Linked DNA regions of Homo sapiens: regions 1 and 3 are each linked to region 2. Evidence: promoter capture Hi-C in human tissues and cell types (Jung and others, 2019). All regions are on one chromosome and are shown on one strand. The core of a region is centred on a gene start or on the middle of the fragment in contact, and the rest is flanking DNA. Distances in the headings are between cores, read along the strand shown.

What was found. Contacts are between HindIII fragments. The study calls those that stand out against the background at their distance.
Region 1: a contact is called between a fragment that was not itself captured here and the fragment with the promoter of GLIS2 in region 2, in 1 of the 25 tissues and cell types used here (dorsolateral prefrontal cortex).
Region 3: the fragment with the promoter of SEC14L5 here is called in contact with the fragment with the promoter of GLIS2 in region 2 in 1 of the 25 tissues and cell types used here (lymphoblastoid cells).

Annotation. Positions count from the first base shown.
Region 1 is chr16:3,795,369-3,798,863 of GRCh38, reverse strand. All of the region lies in intron 3 of CREBBP (CREB binding lysine acetyltransferase), which reads left to right. Among named protein-coding and RNA genes, the nearest start is that of TRAP1, 80 kb to the right of the region's middle. The HindIII fragment of the contact is 6,810 bases long and covers 1-3,495 here.
Region 2 is chr16:4,313,468-4,317,346 of GRCh38, reverse strand. It overlaps GLIS2 (GLIS family zinc finger 2), which reads right to left and starts at 1,280. Exons shown (of 7, transcript NM_032575.3): 1 at 1,093-1,280. RefSeq lists enhancers at 1-18, 2,140-2,652, 2,653-3,165 and a silencer at 2,445-2,739. The HindIII fragment of the contact is 26,266 bases long and covers 1-3,879 here.
Region 3 is chr16:4,956,745-4,960,227 of GRCh38, reverse strand. It overlaps SEC14L5 (SEC14 like lipid binding 5), which reads right to left and starts at 1,898. Exons shown (of 16, transcript NM_014692.2): 1 at 1,783-1,898; 2 at 842-955. The coding sequence starts at 904. RefSeq lists an enhancer at 1,371-1,906 and silencers at 1,710-2,005, 1,804-2,013. The HindIII fragment of the contact is 18,853 bases long and covers 1-3,483 here.

The DNA of each region.
Region 1 (3,495 bases), core at 410-2,909, 520 kb after region 2:
AACGTGCATTTTCAGTTCTTTTGGTTGTATACCTAAAATAGGAATTGCAGAGGTCATGTGGTAATTTTATGTTTGACCTTTTGAGGAATTGCCAGACTGTTTTCCAGAGTGGCTGCTGCCTTCTACATTCCCACACCAATGTATGAGGATTCCAGGTTCTCCACGTCCTGGCCACCCTGTTGCTATTGGTTAGCATTTGACTTTTTATTATAGCCATGTGGTGGGTGTGAAGTGGTATCTCACTGTGGTCTTAACTTGCATTTCCCTAATGGCTAATAAGGTTCAACATCTTTTCATGTGCTTATTGGCCATTCGTGTATCTTCTTTGCATAAATAACTGTTCAGAGCTTTCACTTATTTTTTAATTGGGCTATTAGTCTTTTTATTACTGAGTTGTAAGAGTTTTTAAAATATGTTCTAGATGCAAGTGCTTTATCAGACCTATGATTTGCAAATATTTTCTCTTTCACTTTCCACTTTCACAGTTCATTATTTTGTAATGGTATCCTTTGAAGCATAAAAGTTTAATTTTTTATGAAATCAGTTTATTTTTCTTTTATCACTTGCACTTTTGGTGACGTAGTAAGAAACTGCCTAATCCAAGGTCGTGAAGATTTATTCTCGGTTTTCTTCTGTGAATGGTACGATTGTCACTCTTACGTTGAAGTGTTTGCTCCACCTTGAGTTCATTTTTGAGTGGGAGGTAGAGAGGAGGCTGCCTGCATCCTTCTGCCTGGGCTGTCCAGTGCCTGTGCTCCTCCTCATTGTCATTGAGAAACGATCCCTCCCTCCCTTGTGTTGCCTCAGCACCAAGGTGTAGAACATTTTTGTATTTGTCGTTTCTTTGTGTTTTGTGAGGTGTCTGCATTTTCTTTGCCCAATTTTTTAGTGGGATAGTATCCTTTCTTTCCTGAGAGCATTTGCATAAAAGATCAACCAATTTGCTCGCAGTTTTTCACTTTTTAAACTCCATTATGTGTTTATGTTAAGAAGGCTTTCTCATCCTCATGTCCTAAAAGTTTTTAAATTTTTTTCTCCATTTTAAGCCATTTTTATTCACTTTAGTTCATGTGAATTTTTTTTTTTTTAAATAAAAGGGAAGATAAGGATCAAAGATGCCTCACCACTCTTGAATGTAAAGCACCACCTTTAGGAGACAATCGTCCTCTCTTATCTGGGGTTTCACTTTCTGGGGTTTCACTTACCAGCAATCACAAAATAAGTGAGTGCAGTACAATAAGGTGTTTAGAGAGAGAGAGAGAGAGACCACATTCATGTAGCTTTTATTACAGTGTATTGTTAGTAATGGTTCTATTTCATTATTAGTTAATGTTAATCTCTTACTATACCTAATTTATAAATTAAACTTTATCATAGGTGTGTGTATAGGAAATAATACAGTATATATAGGATTCAGTACTATCTGAAGTTTCAGGCATCCACTGGGAGTTGGAACCTGAACTCTGAGGATAAGGGGGGACTTCTATATGCTAATTTGATATACACCTATGTCTGTTTCTGGACTTAAGTAAAGAAATTAGCTTTATAGTATGTTTCAGTATCTGGCAATATAGATTGCCCCTTTATTTTTACTGTTTTTCAAAATTTTCTTGGCTCTTAGAAAAACAAAATCACACAAAACGTAGATTACTTTTGGGGCAGCTTCCACCACGATGGCTTTGTTCTGTGCTTTAAAGGGAGGTTCCGAAGTACTCTCCCTCCATCCTCAGTGCCTGCCTGCCAGTGGGAACTGGGCAGGGAGGTTGGGAAAGTCTGAAGGATGCTTCTGACAGATTTGGGGGCCACCTGCAGTTCACATCTAACTCTCATGGCTCATTGAACACCAGCCTGGGAGAGGAGGAAATTAAGTGTGCCCCTGTATTTGTAAGTACTTTGCAAAACTAAGCTAGTCCCAGACAAATATACAGAATTCCATGGGGAAAGACAGAGACAGGGACATAAGACATTTTCCATTCCACTGTTGATTCACCCTCAGAATGGCTTTTGAGATGCATGTTGTAAACAATATGTAGAGCTCATTAAACTGTGCATTTGTCCTCCATCCAGAGGTAGACAAATAACAGAACAAATTTTAAATTTGCCATATAGTTTCCAACCATCCTGTTTTGACATATGGTCAGGTGTAGTGCAAAAGACACTATTAAAAATACATGCCAGGCTGGGCGTGGTGGCTCATGCCTGTAATCTCAGCACTTTGGGAGGCTGAGGTGTGCCGGTCTCTTTAGGTCAGGAGTTCAAGACCAGCTTGGCCAACATGGTGAAACCCCATCTCTACTAAAAATACAAAAAGTAGCCAGGCGTGGTGGTGGGCATCTGTAATCCCAGCTACTTGGGAGGCTGAGGCAGGAGAATCGCTTGAACCCAGGAGGCAGAGGTTGCAGTAAGCTGAGGTGGCGCCACTGCACTCCAGCTTAGGCGATAGAGTGAGACTCCCGTCTCAAAAAAAAAAAAAAAAGTACAAGCCAGTTAGGTGGCACCACACATCTGTGATCCCAGCTACATGGGAGGCTGAGGTGGGAAGATCAGTTGAGCCCAGGAGGCCAGCCTGGGCAACATAGCAAGACCTTGTCTCTGAAATTTTAAAAAAAGAATATTTTTAAGTCCCAAATGAAATCAGTGTGTTAATTGTTGGTGAATTAAGAACAGTCTGGTTATAATTTACTTGTAGAGCTAAATTTTTTGCCTAATTTTTATATAATTTTTTTGGTATGTGATATTTCTGTACTTTAAGACACAGTGAGAGGACAACTGTGTGGTCTCTTCAACAAGGTAGTGTCAGGAGTAAAAAAAGGGAAGATACAATAGATTAAGAACCTTAAAAACAACCAAATACAGGATGTGGGCCTTCTTGGGGTCCTGATTTGTGAACACCAGCTCTAAAAGACATGTTTTGGACAACCAGAGAAATTGGGATATGACTCAGTATTAGCTGATGCCCAAGAAGGATGGTTCTTTTTCTTAGGTGTAAGGATGATATCCTTTCCTTTCCATTTTTCTGTATGTTTGAAATTTTCATAAACGTAAAAGAAAGAGTCCTAAATGAGGCTCATTTTGTGTTTCTCCCATTCCTCCATATCTCCATTCCTGTTGATTTCTCGATGGACCTTCCAATCCACAGGGATAAGCCAGTTGAGCAGTGGACTTAACACCAGTACTGCATGCTTGCAGGGGCAGCTCAAGGCCTGTTTGCTTACTGAAGCTTTATTTACAGTTATAAAAAATAAAGGAGGGGCCAGGGATTCCAGTTTATGCCCCATAACAAGAACTAGTTAAATGAGTATAAAGTTAAAAGAGTAACATGCTGTTCATTACAAGTCATTCCAGCCCACTATCTGAGACAGTTTAGTGGTATGGGGCAGAACATGGAAAAAACACTAAGCAAAACATGTGTGTTGCAGGGGAGATACGAGGCTCTATTGATTATGGTTCATACGTAAACATTTATATAGAAAAAAGAAGGGAAAAAAACCTATC
Region 2 (3,879 bases), core at 31-2,530:
GAACCATGGCCCAGGCCCTTTCCATGGCCCAGACCAAGCCCAGGCCTTGGCCAGGTCCCCAGCCGGCCTGGCTGCCCCCTCAGTGTCAAGCGTTCCCTCCAGAGCCAAGATCCTGGGCTGTGATGGCTGGGGGCCCAGGGCCCCTCCCAGCATCCCTTCCAGCTTCCCAGGCCCCAGGGCAGGGCTGGGCAACTCCTTGAAACCATTGCTTCCCGGCCACCCTCTGGCCAGGCTGGGCGGGCCCTCCTGGACAGGCAGACAGGCTGCACGCTGCCCTGCTGTGGCCCGAGTACCCTGCTGGGCAGGGCAGCATGCCAAGGCCTCCAGGTGCCAGCCTGGATTCCAGCCCCATCCCAGGGGGCCAGCGGGGAAGCTGTGCGTGCTTCTCCTCCCTCGGGATGCACCTGCCTCGCCCCCTCCTCCACCCGCTCCAGACCCGCCCTCCGGCGAGTATGGACCCCTTGCCATCTCCTCCCTGCCAGGCCGGTCGCCTGCGTCCACCCGGACCGCAGGGGAGTAACAAGTGCCTGACTTGTCCCAAACTCCCAGTCCTGACCCCCCAGGGACGCCCCTTCCCGAGGTCCAAGGAAGGACCCGGGCTTGCGAGGGGCAGCAGGAGGGAGACTCTCCCGGCCAAGGGAGGAGGCACCTTCCAAAGCCCTTCCTAGCAGCAGCCCCGGCGCGGCCGAGAGGAGGGGCGGCTGCCCCGGACAACTTCATGCCCAGGCTCCGGGTACCCCCCTCTCACCTCGCCGCACGCCCCCCACCGCGGCCGCCCAACTTCCCAGCTGAAGTTTGCGCCCGCCCCGGGCCCGGGCGCTGCTCGGCCCGGCCTCCAGACGGAGGGAAGGAAGGAGGGAGAAGAAAGACCGAGAGCTCGAGGGACCCGGCCGGGGAGCCGGCGAGGGAGGGAGCGCGCGAGCCAGCGAGCGAGCGAACGCGGGGGCCTCGGCGAGGGCTCACAATGGCCCGGGGCGCGGACGCGAGCGGGGGAGGAGACCCTCGGGCCCCGCAGCCCCGGCGCGACAGGCGGGCCCCCCCCCCCCCGCCCCGGCCCGGTCCCCACGGCGCGACGCCCGGGGGGCTTCCTACCTCAGCGGCGGGGGCGGTCGGGATCCGGGCTGCGGGCTCCGGCGGTCGGGGGGCGCGGGGAGCCGAGCGGGGGAGGGGCCGGGACGGGCGGGGGCCGGGGCGCGAGGCCTCACGGGGCGCGGGCTCCCCTGGCACGGCCGCCCGGCGCCCGGCCGCTCCGCCACATCTGCAGCTCGGGCAGGGAAGGTGGCCGCGGCGGCCGGGCCGTGCGGGGATGTCTTAGAGGGAGGGCGGGCGGGCGGGAGGAGGGAGGAGGGAGGCGGCGGGAGGAGGGCCCGCCGGCCGCGGAGGAGGGCGAGGAGGAGGGGCGCGGGGGGCGGCCTCCACCCCTCCCCTCGCTCGCTCGCTCCCTCCCTCCCAGCAAAACCCCTCTCACCGCTGCGGCCCCAGGCCCGGGGCGCCAGCTGCCAGGCGGGGCGTGCGCGTCGGGGGAGGGGGCGGCGGGAGCCGGCGCTGGGCCGAGGGAGGGGGAAGGGAGGGCGGCGCGGCCGCGGGGAGCGGGCACCGGGAGGGAGGGGTGAGGGAGGGAAGTGGGGCGCCGAGCCGCGCGCGTCCTCCTCGGCCCCATCCTCACGCCACCCCCCCCCCGCGGCCCCGCCCCCGGCCCGAGGGCAGCGCTAGGACACGGCCGGGAGGTGGCCTGGGGGGGCGGGGGAGCCCGAGACGTCCCGCCCTCGGGGAAGCCCGAGGAGGGGGCCGGGCGCGCGGGCCCAGAGGAAAAGCCCCGCAGACCGGGAAGATGGAGGAGGTCGCGGCGGCGGAGCGGGCGGGGACCCCTCGCCTCCTCCCGCGGGGTCACCTTGGCCAGGCCCCCCTGCGGCCCCGGGCGGCGGGGAAGGCGGCAGGAATGCCTCTCTGCGGGCCCTGATTTCTCCGCCCAGCCCAGTTCCAGGAACGCGCAGGCAGCGCCCGGCGGGCAGAGGTCCCGGATCCCGATGCCGGGCGGCGCAAACCAGTTTTCGGGGCCCGGCGCAACCCCTCACGCTGGTGAGACGGCGGGCGACTCCCTGCCGTGCCCTCGGTCTCAGTTTCCCTCACGGTAGAATAACGACGAGGCCCGATGCCGAGCAATCCGAGCTTCCGCTTGGTTCCTAGCTTGGTCCCAGCATTTGGGACCACCTGCGTCCACTAGCCCGAGCGCCGCGGGAGGTCTAGATCCCTCCTGGACATCAGCACCCTGCGCGGCGCCCGCGGCCAGGGCAGCGAGTGCAGTGAGCGGATACACGCGAGGGAGAAGCCCCGCACCCGGCCCAGCTGTTTTCTGCCTCGTGTTGAACCACAGACTCGCGTTCTTGAGTGTGTTTTGTTTGGGCTAATCCCGTGCCCCCCGCCCTGTTATCTTCTTGCTGCTCTGCTGTATGCTGGCAAATTGTAGTTCAAAAAAACAGCCCTCCTGCTGTTGGACACCCCCTCTTCCCAGCGCAGTTGGCCTTGAGGAGCCTAGGAGACGAAAAAGGCATCCCAGAATCAGCATCCCCTAGAGGTGAGGCATCTGACGCTGGTTTTAAGTCCGTCTTCATTCGTGCATTTGATGCTGCGGTCCCCGCCAGAGCCCGAAGCACGTGGCTCTTGATCACAAGGCATCCATGGCAGGCACAAGGCTTGGCACATAGTAGGTGCTCCTGGGCTGGTGCCCAGATGGACACATAGCAGGTGCTCATGGGTTATGTGGACACACAATCGATGCTCATTGCATTTTAAGAGAATGCACACATAGTAGGTGCTCATGGGCTGGTGCCCAGATGGACACATAGCAGGTGCTCATGGGTTATGTGGACACACAATCGATGCTCATTGCATTTTAAGAGAATGCACACATAGTAGGTGCTCAGGACGTTGTGGGTGAATGCACACATAGTAGGTGTGGACTCGTAATGGATGCTCATGTTTTGGTCTAATGAACACATATTAGGTGCTCATGACCTGTTGTGGAAATGGGCACATAGTAGGTGCGCAGGAGCTGTAGGTTGATACCTGGAAGGGATGTAGGAAGGCCGTTTGCCTGGAGCAAAGGCTCGGAAGTTGGCGATTTGGAGGTGACCTCCCCCAGCCTCCACCCTCACCTCACCCCGGTCTCCTGAGTGTGGATAATGTGGAGTGTGGCCGGGTTAAACATTAGCCGGGAGATGGGCCCCGGGGGAAGGCCAGTTTCGGGACCTAGCGCTTCCAGGAGGGGGCTATTAAGGGCCGACTCTCTGGGTCCGGCGACCTGTGCGGGCGTCCGGAAGGGCCGAGGCCGAGGCCCGCAGAGCGCCCCCTCACGGCGGCGGGAATCGCTGCGCTTCAGCCCGGAGCCCTGCCCTGCAGCCGACCGCATCCGACCTCAGGCAGGCAGAACTGCAGCCCTGGGGTCGAGGTGTGTAGAAAAAAGGTACAGGAGACGCTAGTTTAAATCTGTTAGCAAAAATGTTTATCGGTCGGGCGCGGTGGCTCATACCTGTAAGCCCAGCACTTTGGGAGGCCGAAGTGGGAGGATCCCTGGAGGCCAGGAGTTGGAGACCAGCCTGGGCAACATAGCAAGACCCCCACCTCCCACCTAGTCTCTATTATATTTTTTAAAAATTGGCTGGGCGTGGTGGCTCACGCCCGTAATCCCAACGTTTTGGGAGACTGAGGCAGGCAGATCACTTGAGGTCAGGAGTTTGAAACCAGCCTGGCCAACATGGTGAAACCCCATCCCTGCTAAAAATACAAAAATTAGCCGGGCATGGTGGTGCGTGCTTGTAATCCCAACTACTCAGGAGGCTTAGGCAGGAGAATCGCTTGAGCCTGGAAGGCATAGGTTGC
Region 3 (3,483 bases), core at 649-3,148, 640 kb before region 2:
GCATTGTCCCCATGTTACTGAGCAGGGAAGTGAAGTGCTCAGAGGCAGAGGGATGCAGCCAAGAAGGAATTCCACATCCACCTATGTCCAGCTTCTGCCCCCAGGGTGAAAAGACCAGTGATCCTGGGGGCCAAGGATCTGGCAGCCAATTCTAGGCCTCCAACTGACTTGCTGCACAACACAGAGTACATCACAAAGCAAACCTACCCACTCATTCTCTCTCTCGTCCCAGTGTCAGCTTCCTTAAAGGGGAGGGAAGGGGGTCTGTGAGCAGAAGGAGGGCTCTGTGGTCAAATGTGAGGTTCTAGAGTCTCCTTTGTGGGGATCTCAGCCCCGACTCCACCTCTGCGTAGATACAGAACTTAGTGTCATCCCTTCACCTGTCAAAGCCTCAGTTTCATGGAGGTTACATGGGAAAATAACAGCTATCGGGAATTGGAAGAAACATCATCTGTTAAGACAGTGCTGTAAACATTCAATAAACAGCTGTTGTCATTATCACCACCATTCCATTTATCACTGTGATATGCCATTATATGAAATGACAGCAGTGGCTTGGCCCCTGATACCTTTGTTTTCTATCAGGAGAGTCTAAAGTAAGGGAGCAGGTCAGCTTCAACAAGGAGAAGGAAGAAAGACTTTGTGTTTTGGTCACTGGGCCGAGGATAGGATGGTTGGACAGAGAGGTCACTGGATAGAAGTTAAACCCACCAGGTCAGCTGAGTAACTCACTAATTCCTTCTGATCTGGGAGTCTAAGGAGCTCCGTCTTCCTACCGCCATAGCTGATCTCAAGCCCCTCCAACTGTCACATGGGGGCCCAAGAATCAGGAGTCACTCACCGCCATGACCAGCTCAAACGGGTACTTGTAGACTCGGACAGGAGACTGGTATCTTTGCACCATGTTCACGCTGGAGCACCAATGGAGGTCACCAGGCAGGGGTGTGCACAGAGCCTGGGGCGAGGAGTGACTGGTGAGGTTGCAGCTCCCACCTCGGGAAGCAGGGACACCACCCACCAAGTGTAAGGGGCAGCCCCTGGCCCCACCCACACAGCTCCCCAGCCTTCAAATTGAGAAGGCTGATATTCCCCCCAAATTACTCCAGGCCAAGCCCCAACAGCTTCCCTGTCATTAGCCATGGCCCCAGACCACGCTCAGCCTTCCAAGAGCAGTCAGCACCCCCAAACTTTCCTCTACCCCCACCCCTTCACACTGAGGGCCCCCAGAAGCCTTACGGCCACCCACACAGACACACACACATTTGCAATTCTTACACTCCCACGGTTCTATTCACGCATGCACCCCGCAGCTTGCCACAGACTTGCTGGCCTACAGCCCACCCCCGAGTCTCCTTGCACCTGCCCTCCCATTTTCCTCCCAGACACCCTGACATACACACACAGCCTTCACCACATTTCACAGGCACTGTCTCTATCACACACATGTACACACGCAGGTTTCCCTCCCACACGGGACTGCTTTTGCACACGCCTCCAACTTTGCACACACACCCTGAAACACGCACCTGCCCAGCTCCACGCACGCAATTCCCCTGGTGTGCACAGACGTGCACACACGCACACACACCCGTGCGCACATGCACACACACGTACACACACGTAGAGGCAATCGCACACGCATGCACACACAGGTCCCCGCAGCTTTGCTCACCCTCGCCCTCGGGAGCCTTTGGGAATGCAGCCTAGGGGAAGTGCCCTGGAAGCCCGCCTGGCTCGGGAGCTGAGCGCTTACCCGCGCCCGCCTGGCCTGGAGCGCAGTACCTGAGGCGGGGCCCGATCGCGGATCTCTAGCCTGGTGTGTCCCGCCTTGAACACCCTGCGGCCAGGACAGCTGTGGAAGGCCGGAGGGGCGGGAGCGAAACCTGCCGGGCCGAGAGAGCTCCAGGACCCGGGACAGCGGAGATCCTGGCCTGGCCCCGCCCCTGACCTGGTCCCGCCCACGTCCCCGGCCATGGCCCCGCCCAGGTTGGCCCTGCCCCCTAACTGGTCCCGCCCCACTCTGGCCCCGCCCCAGGCGAACTCCCCCTGGTTCTAGCCCCGCCCCTTATTTTTAGATGTCGCTTGTTTGACCACGCCCTCAGCCCAGTCCTTTCTCTAGATTGGTCACACCTCAGGAAGTCCCCTCCCCCTTCACTGGCCCCGCCCTCCAAGGCCCTCAGCCTCGGGGAATGGTAGGCCACAGGACGACCCCGCCCTAATCTAGCTCTGCCTCCAAGCAGACCCTGAGTCCGGGCCGACCCGCCCCGGACCCTGCGTCTGGCCGACAGTACTGTTTACATTTGTAGATAAGCAGAATTTACGCTTTTCTTGCTCAGATTAACCTCGCCCTCGTCCCGCTGCACTTGGGTCTGACTGGCTCCTCCACCTGTCCCCGCCCCACGGCCCGCGCATGCACCTTCGCCCACTCTGCACACCTTCACAGAGCGCCTGCTGGGGGTCAGCCCTGTCCAGGCGCTGGAGAGCCGCCGGTGAGCCACACGCACGAATCCCTGCCCTCGTGGAGTTTATACTACGGTGGGGAGACAGACACTCAATAAATAAGGCAAATATATGATGTGTGAGGTAGTGAAAAACTCTAACGAGAGAAAAATAAGCAGGAAAGGGGCTCAAGGAGCCAGCGGAGAGAAAGGACAATTTAAAACAGGTAAGAGGCCGGGCGCCATGTCTCACGCCTGTAATCCAAACACTTTAGGAGGCGGAAGCGGGAGGACCGCTTGAACCCAGGAGTTGGAGACCACCCTGGGTAACATAGCAAGAACCTATCTCTACAAAAAAATTTTTTTTTAGTTTAGGCAGGGCGCGGTGGCTCACGCCTGTAATCCCAGCACACTGAGAGGCCAAGGCAGGCAGATCAGCTGAGGTCAGGAGTTCGAGAACAGCATGGCCAATATGAGGAAACCCCGTCTCTACTAAAATACAAAATTAGCCGGGCATGGTGGCGTATACCTGTAATCTCAGCTACTCGGGAGGCTGAGGCAGGAGAATCGCTTGAATCAAGGAGGCGGAGGTTGCAGTGAGCCGAGACTGCGCCACTGCACTCCAGCCTGGGCAAGAAGAACAAAGCTCCGTCGCAAAAAAAAAAAAAAAAAATTAGCCAGGCGTGTTGGCACGTGCCTGTGGTCCCAGCTACTCAAGAGGCTGAGGCAGGAGGATCCCTTGAGCCCAGAAGTTCAAAGCTGCAGTGAGCTGTTACCTGGCCACTGCACTCCAGCCTGGGCAACAAAGCAAGACTCGGTCTCAAAATAAATAAGTAAATAAATAAATAAAACAGGGAGTAAGGGGGCCTCCCTTGGGAGAGTGACATTTGTCCATCACTCTCATTTTAACTCACACTTAACCCCTTTCAGCCCTCCCAGGACTCCCAGGGGACCAACCTTGCTCCCAGAAGTCCTGCCTTGCCACTCCTCATCTGTTTAGCCTACAAGACCCAAGAAATTGGCTCTGGACAGTGCTGTCATCCAT